Linked DNA regions of Homo sapiens: region 1 is linked to region 2. Evidence: promoter capture Hi-C in human tissues and cell types (Jung and others, 2019). All regions are on one chromosome and are shown on one strand. Each heading gives the region's core, a stretch centred on a gene start or on the middle of the fragment in contact. The rest is flanking DNA. Distances are from core to core; before and after follow the strand shown.

Region 1 (3,966 bases), core at 1,066-3,565, 490 kb before region 2:
ATAATACTAGTAGTTAAAGGTTAGTATTGCCGTGATATTCTACAGAGATTGGGTGGTAAGGATCAAGTAAAATGGAAATTAGGGGCATAGGATCAGTTTAGAGGTTATTACAGCAATCTCAGTGTGATAAAAACTGATGTATTGAGAAACGAGACATTGATTTTGGCAGCAAGAAATTTTTAAAAAGTAGAGATGAGCCTGCATGATGTTTAGAAGGAGGATTTATAGAATTTAGTGACAGGCTATGGAGCATCAAAGAGAGAGGTGTTTGCCTGGACCAAGAGCAATTGCAAAGCTGAGAACTATGCACGTTTCATTCACAGATATCTGCCTTGGTTAGCACATTGTCTGCTTCCCAGCAGAGGTTCAGTAAATACTTGGATAATACATTAATGAGTGACCAGTGGTAATGCCAGGCTTTGAGCTGAGTGTCCTACAGGGAAGCAGAGAAAGAGTGCAAGAAAGGGCGCTAGTTTGAATGAAAGAGGAATGTGATGTTGCATATGCTGAGTTCCAGTTGAGAAAATTGAAGATGAAGAGCTTCAAGTTGGATGTAAAAGACCCAAGTTCTGAGGCAATTCAAGTCTGGAGATGTCACTGCAGGGTCACTTGTGAAAAAGGCGATGATTGAGTTACTTAAAGGGACAAGATTTTCTTAAGATTAATGGGGAAGGAACAGGCCAGACGAGTGAATCTGGACCTCAGAGAAGCAAAATTAGGAGAAGGAATAACAAAGAGTTCTGTGGAGTATAAAGCCATGGTCATTAAGGAAGGATCATATTTTCAATCAGAGGTGGCAGTGATGGTGTGCAGTGCTACAGACTGAACCAGGAAAGATAGAATGAAAAAAATGGCCTTTGATTTTGGCTGAAGAAGTTTATTGACAGTTTTGGAAAGAGGTATTTTATTTATACAGTGTTGCTTCAAGTCAGATTGTGAAGATTTGACAAGTGATTGTGTTGTTGATAGACATTCAAACAAAGCTTCAACAAGGACATTTCTTAGAGTTGAGAAGGACACCTTACATGAAGATGCTGTTGTTGTCAAGATAGGGAGAAATAAATCCTCTGTACTCATGGTCTGTGTTATGAGCTAAATCATGTGTCTGCAAAATTCACAATTTGATGTCTTAACCCCCAATATCTCAGAATGTCACTGTATTTAATGGTAAGGTCTTTAAAGAGGAGTTTAAGTTAAAATGAGGCCCTTAGAGTGGGAACTTAATCCAATATGACTGGTGTCCTTTTAGGAAGTGAAAGAGACACCAGGAACATGCATGCACAAAAGGCGGCCATGTGAAGAGGCAACAAGAGGGTGGCTGTCTGCAAGCTAAGGACAGGGACCTCAGGAGAATCCAACTCTGCTGACACTTTGATCCTGGACTCCAGCCTCCAGAACTCTGAGAAAATAAAGTTCTGTTGTCAAAATCATTTTGCCTTGGCAGCCTGAGCAAACTGATAGAGTCTGCAAAATGGAGGAGGGGGTTAAGTGTGGAAAGAGGAGCACCCAGTATAGGGAAAGTAGATCTCAGAGAATATATGTACCTGCAAAAACAACATAAAATCAATTGAAAAGTTAAAACAATTAAATGCTTATGGCCAAATAACATAAGCTATGTGATATTTCTTTATCTTTTACTTTTCTAAAACATTTTAATATTTGTGTTTTCCCACTGGATGCACCAATCCAATGCTTTAAAGTTTGGAACCTGGTGTTCAAGCTTCGTAAGATGGAATCAATTTTCCATTTTGCTGTCTTTGTGTTGTTGTCTCTTAACAAACCACTACCCACTGGTGTGAAGGCGAAGCAGAGAGGCTTTGACATTGCTCTCAAAGCCTTCCATGTCATTATTTTTTATTTAATTGTAATTGGGACAACAATCAATCAGCTAATACCATATTTTGCTTATATTTTTAGAACATTTTTAGACTCCCTTTATGTTTCCTTAACACTGTATGGAATTCTGAGGTTGATTTGAGTTCATGAAGACTAAGAAGAATTTTCTTCCTCACCTAAGGAATCCAAAGATTCTTGGAGCTTCTTCAGGTTCTCGTCTTATCTCATGACCATTTTGAAAAGAGGGTCATGAATGAACCATTTTGAGTTACTTCATTTGAATCTTACTATCTAAAGCAGGGAATAAAATTTAAAACCTGTTTGTGAGGCTCTGTCCTTGTAGATAATCCACATTCTTTCTGATTTTTGATAGTGCACATAATCAGCAAGCAGCTAGACAGCTGGAGGAGATACGTAAATGAGAGAAATTTGTAGATGTCCACATGAAGTGGACATGTTAATCCCCCTTTATCCTCTAAAAGCTTCCCTAGGGGAGGCAGTTCTCTGCCCTGTGGAAGATGTTTTTTTCCAAAGCTAGCCCAAGATGGGAACAATGATATTTTAAACTTGGCAAGATTTCATTTAGAAAATCAGGCCCTTGAGACTGCTCTGAAAGGATTGACTCTGCTCCCATCTGGGATTTATTTAATCCTTTCATTGTTTCTTAGGTGAGTTTTCAAAAAACACATTGACAAGCTGTCTAGTGTGCCAATAAAGAATCTATTGGATACTTCCTCTTAATAGAACTTCATAATCTTACTTCTGTAGATGTCTGAAAAGTGGAATTTGTACTCGCCCAAAAAATTATGCTGAAACTTAACTGTGGTAATTGTATACTGTGGTGTTTAAAATGGACAAATACCACATGGCCTTTTGTCTATGATTTGTGGGCATAGCTGGAAATTTTTAGTCTGGGGGCATAATTTCTAGATGGATCTCTCAGCACTTTGTGGGTTACAAAATAATATCTTTTACTCTTCTGCAATTTTGAGGTTGTTTAGATATCCAGACCCGCTGGAGACAGTAAGGAGTAATTTTATATTTTATGCTATCAGGTTAAACTTTGAATTCATAGGTGAGAACCTTGTAAAAATTTAGAGTACTGAGTTAGAGAAAGACCCCTATATAAACACAGTGGATTCATAAACCCAGAAAATATCCTCTAATCCCTATTGTTGAATTAGAATTTAAATATGGGGGAGAGCCAAGATGGCTGACTAGAAGGAGCTAGCGTGCACTGCTCTCACGGACAGAAGAAACAGTGGTGAGTAAACCCTAGACCTTTAACTGGAACATTCAGGTGGACACATTGCGATTCATCAAGGAAACAACCCACGAATGAAAGAGAGGAATGAGACAAGACAACCACCCACCTGGGATGGCATAGAGCCAGAGGAGGCCCCCATACCTCGGAAAAATGATGAGTGAGTGACAGTCCCCAGGAACCCACACTTCTACCATGGACTTTTGCAACCCTGGGCTCAGGAGATCCCCCTGTGAGCCCACCCCACAGGGGCCTCCAGACTGACACCGAGAGCTCTGTGGAGTCTGGTAAGAGAAGTCACTCATGCACACATGGAGTCCTAGGAGCCTTGGATCCCCAGGCATCCTGGCATTAGCCACTGCAGCTCTGGCAGTGGGGGAGGTCAGGCTCCCTTGCACGTCTCCGGGAAAGAGGCAAATTTCATGAGGCTGAGCAGTGATGAACTTCAGGTTTCACCTTGCAGGATAAGGCCCACTGGCCTGGGACTCCAGCCACCTACTGCCTGGGCTTTCAGACCAGTAGCAGCTCTGACTTCCCTGGGACGGAGCTCCCAGAGGGAGATGCAAGCCACTATTTTTGCTGCCCTGCAGCCCTAATTGCTGCTGCCCTCAGGTTCTAGAAGGTGCGTGGTGATTTGAGACTGATACAGCTCCCCAGTGCAGCACAGCTGCCCCACAGAGAAGTGGCCAGACTCTTTTCCACCTGAGTCCTCGTTCCAACTTCTCCTCACTGAGTGGGACCCTGGACCTCGGACTCTAGCACAACCACTCTGGCCCCACCTCAACACTTTAGTCGGAGGCGGTTCTACATTTCACTGAGGAGGAAATCACAGAGACAACCCACAGCCCGTCTGCCACTGGAACTGC
Region 2 (4,150 bases), core at 1,444-3,943:
TTTGTGTTTAATCCTCAAAACAATCCGCTGATGTGGATTTTATTATTATCTCCGTTCAGAGACTGAAGCTGAGACAGTCTGTAAGTGGCAGGGTAGAGATTCCTGTGGCTTTTAAGGATGTGGGGGGGCACTTGACTGCAGTCATTACTTTAGAACTCATCTTCTGTCCCTATCTCCCATCTGACAAAGCCTGTTGCTCCTTTGGACATCTCAATCTCAATAAATAGAAAAGTAGCACTAACAGGCACACAGTGAAGTCAAAAACCTGGGATCATCCTAAATCCCTTCTCCCACCATCCATTCAATACCTGAAGTCCTGACATTCTACCTCACAAATTTCCCTATTTCCCTCCCACCTGTCCTCTTTGCATTCCCTCTTGGTCACAGTCCTCATTGTCTCTCACCAGGGCCACTGCAGAAGTAGCAGACACAGGACGCATAATAGTGAAGAGCAGGAACTCGGCAGGTGGTCTCCCTGCCTTTGACCCTCTATAACTACTATCTGTGCGACCTTAGGCAAGCTAACCTGTGTCTGTTTCATCTGTAAAATGGGGATAACAATTAGAATAATACCTAACAGCACTACGTAAACGTTAGTAAGTGGCGAGGAAACTTAGCTCCTCATTTTCTCTTCCTCTAATCATTCTGCACATAACAGAGACAGTGTGTATGTGTGTGTGTGTTTTTTTTTTTTTTAATGAGACACGGTCTCACTCTGTCACCCAGACTGGAGTGCACTGGCGCGATCTTGGCTCACTGCAGCCTCAACCTCCCAGGCTCAAGTGATCCTTTCTCCTCAGACTCCCAAGTCCTGGGACTACAGGTGTGTGCCACTGTGCCAGACCAATTTTTTTGTATTTGTAGACATGGGGTCTCACTATGTTTTCCAGGCTGGTCTTGAACTTCTGAGCTCAAGAGGTCCGCCTGCCTTGGCCTCCCAAAGTGTTGGGATTACAGGCGTGAGCCACTGTGCCCGGCATGTGTGTGTGTTTTAATGCCAATCTGATTAACACCACACCAGTGTTAAAACTTTTAATGGATTCCTATTGCCCTTAGAGATCTCTGGCTCATAACTTTCTAAATTCTAGCAATACTTGTCAGCTTTGAGTTCTTCCAACATCTTGGGGTCTTTATACAAGTGGCTACCAACCCAGAACACCAGTCCAATATCTATTTATTCTTCAAAAATGGGATTAACTTCGAGGAGGCTTTCTCATTTCCATTGATTGGATAAATAATCTTTGTTACATGTTCCTACAGTTCCCAACCTTGTACTTCCTTGTGGTAATATTTGTCACTCTTAAAACTCATTAGTCAATGTTTCTTTCCCTTCAGACCAAAATTTTGGAGAGGGAAAAGTTCTTGCTTGTTAGTTCTGGGTTGTAATCCCAAAGCCTAGTCCAGGAAGGATAAATATCCACTAAATAAATGAAACTGGAATGAAGCAAAGCTGAAATTCCACATGAAGTTCCTGGGTCTTTAGTAGCCTCCCACCTCCACTACTCTTTATCAGTCTGGAAATTTGGGCCTATCACTGTTCTTCCCATGGCCAGGCCCTTTAATGTGGAGACCCTGGTGGTCTTCAACTCTTAAGAAGTGGCCTCTCCACAGGCATTTACAGTTACCGGTCACCATCTCCTGAAAAACACCCAAGAGCCCTAGATATCCCCTTCCCAGATATCAAAGGACCTCCTTCCTCCCTAACCAGATACCTTGTAGGTTCTCCCTCCAGTTGCCAATCATGCCCCTTCCCCCAAAGTGTCACCTTATTTCCGCTCTCAGTCCATAGACCATCTCCCTTAGACTGTCCACAAACCCAGCCTTTGCCCCTCTAAATTCATCCCAGCTGACAACCACCCTTCCTAACACACACACATACATCTTTTATCGTCCTGATCTACCCTAGACGGTCTCATCACTATACTGGCTCCTCCTTACCCCCGTAAATCTCCCAGGTACACTTCCTGATCACCCTCCGGATACCTCATCCCTATCTATTCCTTTTATAAATAATTCCCTGCTCCTCCTTCTCACCCACAATCCACTCGCAGTTCAAGGCCTCATTGCCATCGACTCCACTGTCTGTGAGTGCTTCCCAATATGCCCCAGGACCCCTCCTGGTGTCACGCTCTGTATCCTGACACCCCTTGTAGACGAGTCCCGAAATTCCCGCCCCGTCCCTGGAGCTCCCACTCCCTCCCAGACCTCCACAAACCTTCCAGGCCCCCAGCCCTAAGCCCGGCACCACTGTCCACCCTTCGCGGCTCCTGGGTCCTCACCGCGCCCCTAGACAAACCCGGACTCCCTCTGGTCCCACCCGCCCTTGCACCGCTTCTAGCCGTCTCGGCCACCCACGTGTGTTCCCAGCCCACCGACCACGCTCCCGGCACACCCTATAGCCCCGCGCTGCCTCCGGGAGAGCGGACGGGGAAAGCCGAGGGTCTCCGAGGGGCGCTCGGGCTCTGGCGAGAGGAGGAAGGACTCAGGGAAGCAGCCGGGGAGGCCCGGGGCTCCGGGGAGAGGTCGGGAAGGCCGAAGCGCTCTGGCGAAGAGGCCGGGGAGGCCGAGGGGTTCCCGGAAGCGGGCCGGGAGGCCAGGGGTCTCAGGGGAGGCCCAGCGGGCCGTGCAGCGGGCGCGTGTGGCGGCGAGCGGGGCCTCACCGTCAGTCACGGCTCCCATGGCGTGCGCGGCGGCGGCGGCGGCGGCGGCGGCGCAAGCTGAGGCGGCGGTTGGCGGCGGCGGAGGTCAAACTCCCACAATGCAGCCGGGTAAACAGCCATGGAGGAGGAGGCGGCGGCGCCCGCGGCCGCCTGCTCCGACGCCTGAGCCGCGCCGCGCCGCGCCGCCGCCGCCGCCGCCGCCGCCGCGGGACCCGCGCTCCCCGCGCTCCCGGTACTCCCCGGGGGCGGCCGCGGCCGGCGCGAGTTGGGGCGAGGCTTGGCGGCCGGCGGCGGCCCCGGCTGCAGCCCGGGCTCCCGCCGCCCCCCTTGCAGCCCCCGCCCGGCCCACGCCCAGAGGCCGCCCCGGAGGCCGCAGCCAGCCGCCAGGTGAGCTCGCCCGGACGCCGCCAGGGCTGCGGGGGTGCGGCGGGAGCTGCGGGCCGCCCGCAGTCGGGGTCCCGGCTTCTTCCCCGGGAAGGTGACTGCGGCCCCGCCGCCCCATCCAGGGTGACGCTGCTAGGGGTGGGCTCGTTTCCCTGGGGGGTGGGGAGGGTGACGGGGACGCCCGGATCCGGCTGAGCCCAGGAGAGGCGGGACTAGGGGTACCGAGGGGGGCGCGTCGCTGGGGGTCCCCGCGAAGTTGGCGCCCACGCGCGCTGGGGCGGGTCTCGAACGCCGGCACTTGCGCGGGGCGCGGCCGGCAATCAAAAAAGGCCCCGGGTTCCAGGTCGCGCGGTTCCGGCCCCTGCGGCCGCCCCCTTCCTTCCTGGGCTCGGCGGGTGCGGGAAAAAGGGTGAAAGAGAAACTTGGCGACCTCCCGGAGGAGTTCGCGAAGCGACCAGGAGCGTGTTGCCATCGTCCTCACCCGGCACCCAATTCCACCACAGAGTCGGGATTTCGTCGGTGATCGTGATGGGGTGCTTTTATTTTTCTCTTTGATTTTCAAAAAATGTCTATGTGACTGTCCCTATCTTAAGGGGAAGTTGAAAGTGGGGGCGGGGGTGCTCAATGAGAAACGTTGCCTTGTGTGTAGTTGTTTGGAGCACACTGCAAATTATATTGGCATCTCTTTCCAAAAGTCACTTTGATTCAACTTCGATAGCTTTCTCGTAAATGGCACGTTTAGGTGGTGAGAGGTGGATGAGGAAACAGGCACCAGTGCAGCTGATTTGACCTCCAGTGGGATAGATACGATTAGCACCAGGATCGTGTCTCATTTTGAACCCAGGTTTGTTATTTTATTCAGCCATACCGTTGTTTTCCAATTTTCCTGTCCCCCAAGTAGATCTTGCATCTTCATATCCGGGATGAAGAAGTTGTGTAGGATAAACTTGGTTGTTTCACTTTCCTTACTAAATTTAGGTACATTCTCCCTGTTTTCCCCCAGTTCTTTCAAAGAGGAGAAGTTGCAGATGCAAATGTATTAAAGTGAAGTGTGTTTAACCTCTAGCAAGAAATATGTACAATTTTAGTCATATTATGTGAGACCA

Evidence for each region. Contacts are between HindIII fragments. The study calls those that stand out against the background at their distance.
Region 1: a fragment that was not itself captured here is called in contact with the fragment with the promoter of THOC7 in region 2 in 3 of the 25 tissues and cell types used here (dorsolateral prefrontal cortex, hippocampus and mesenchymal stem cells).

The regions. Positions count from the first base shown.
Region 1 is chr3:63,367,896-63,371,861 of GRCh38, forward strand. The region is part of intron 2 of SYNPR (synaptoporin); the gene reads left to right. Among named protein-coding and RNA genes, the nearest start is that of SYNPR, 92 kb to the left of the region's middle. The HindIII fragment of the contact is 3,775 bases long and covers 429-3,966 here.
Region 2 is chr3:63,861,112-63,865,261 of GRCh38, forward strand. It overlaps THOC7 (THO complex subunit 7), which reads right to left and starts at 2,694. Exons shown (of 8, transcript NM_025075.4): 1 at 2,661-2,694. The coding sequence starts at 2,679. ATXN7 (ataxin 7) reads left to right here and starts at 2,756. Exons shown (of 13, transcript NM_001377405.1): 1 at 2,756-3,047. It overlaps THOC7-AS1 (THOC7 antisense RNA 1), which reads left to right. Exons shown (of 2, transcript NR_104326.1): 2 at 388-708. RefSeq lists silencers at 2,413-2,632, 2,963-3,202, 3,213-3,432. The HindIII fragment of the contact is 20,525 bases long and covers 1-4,150 here.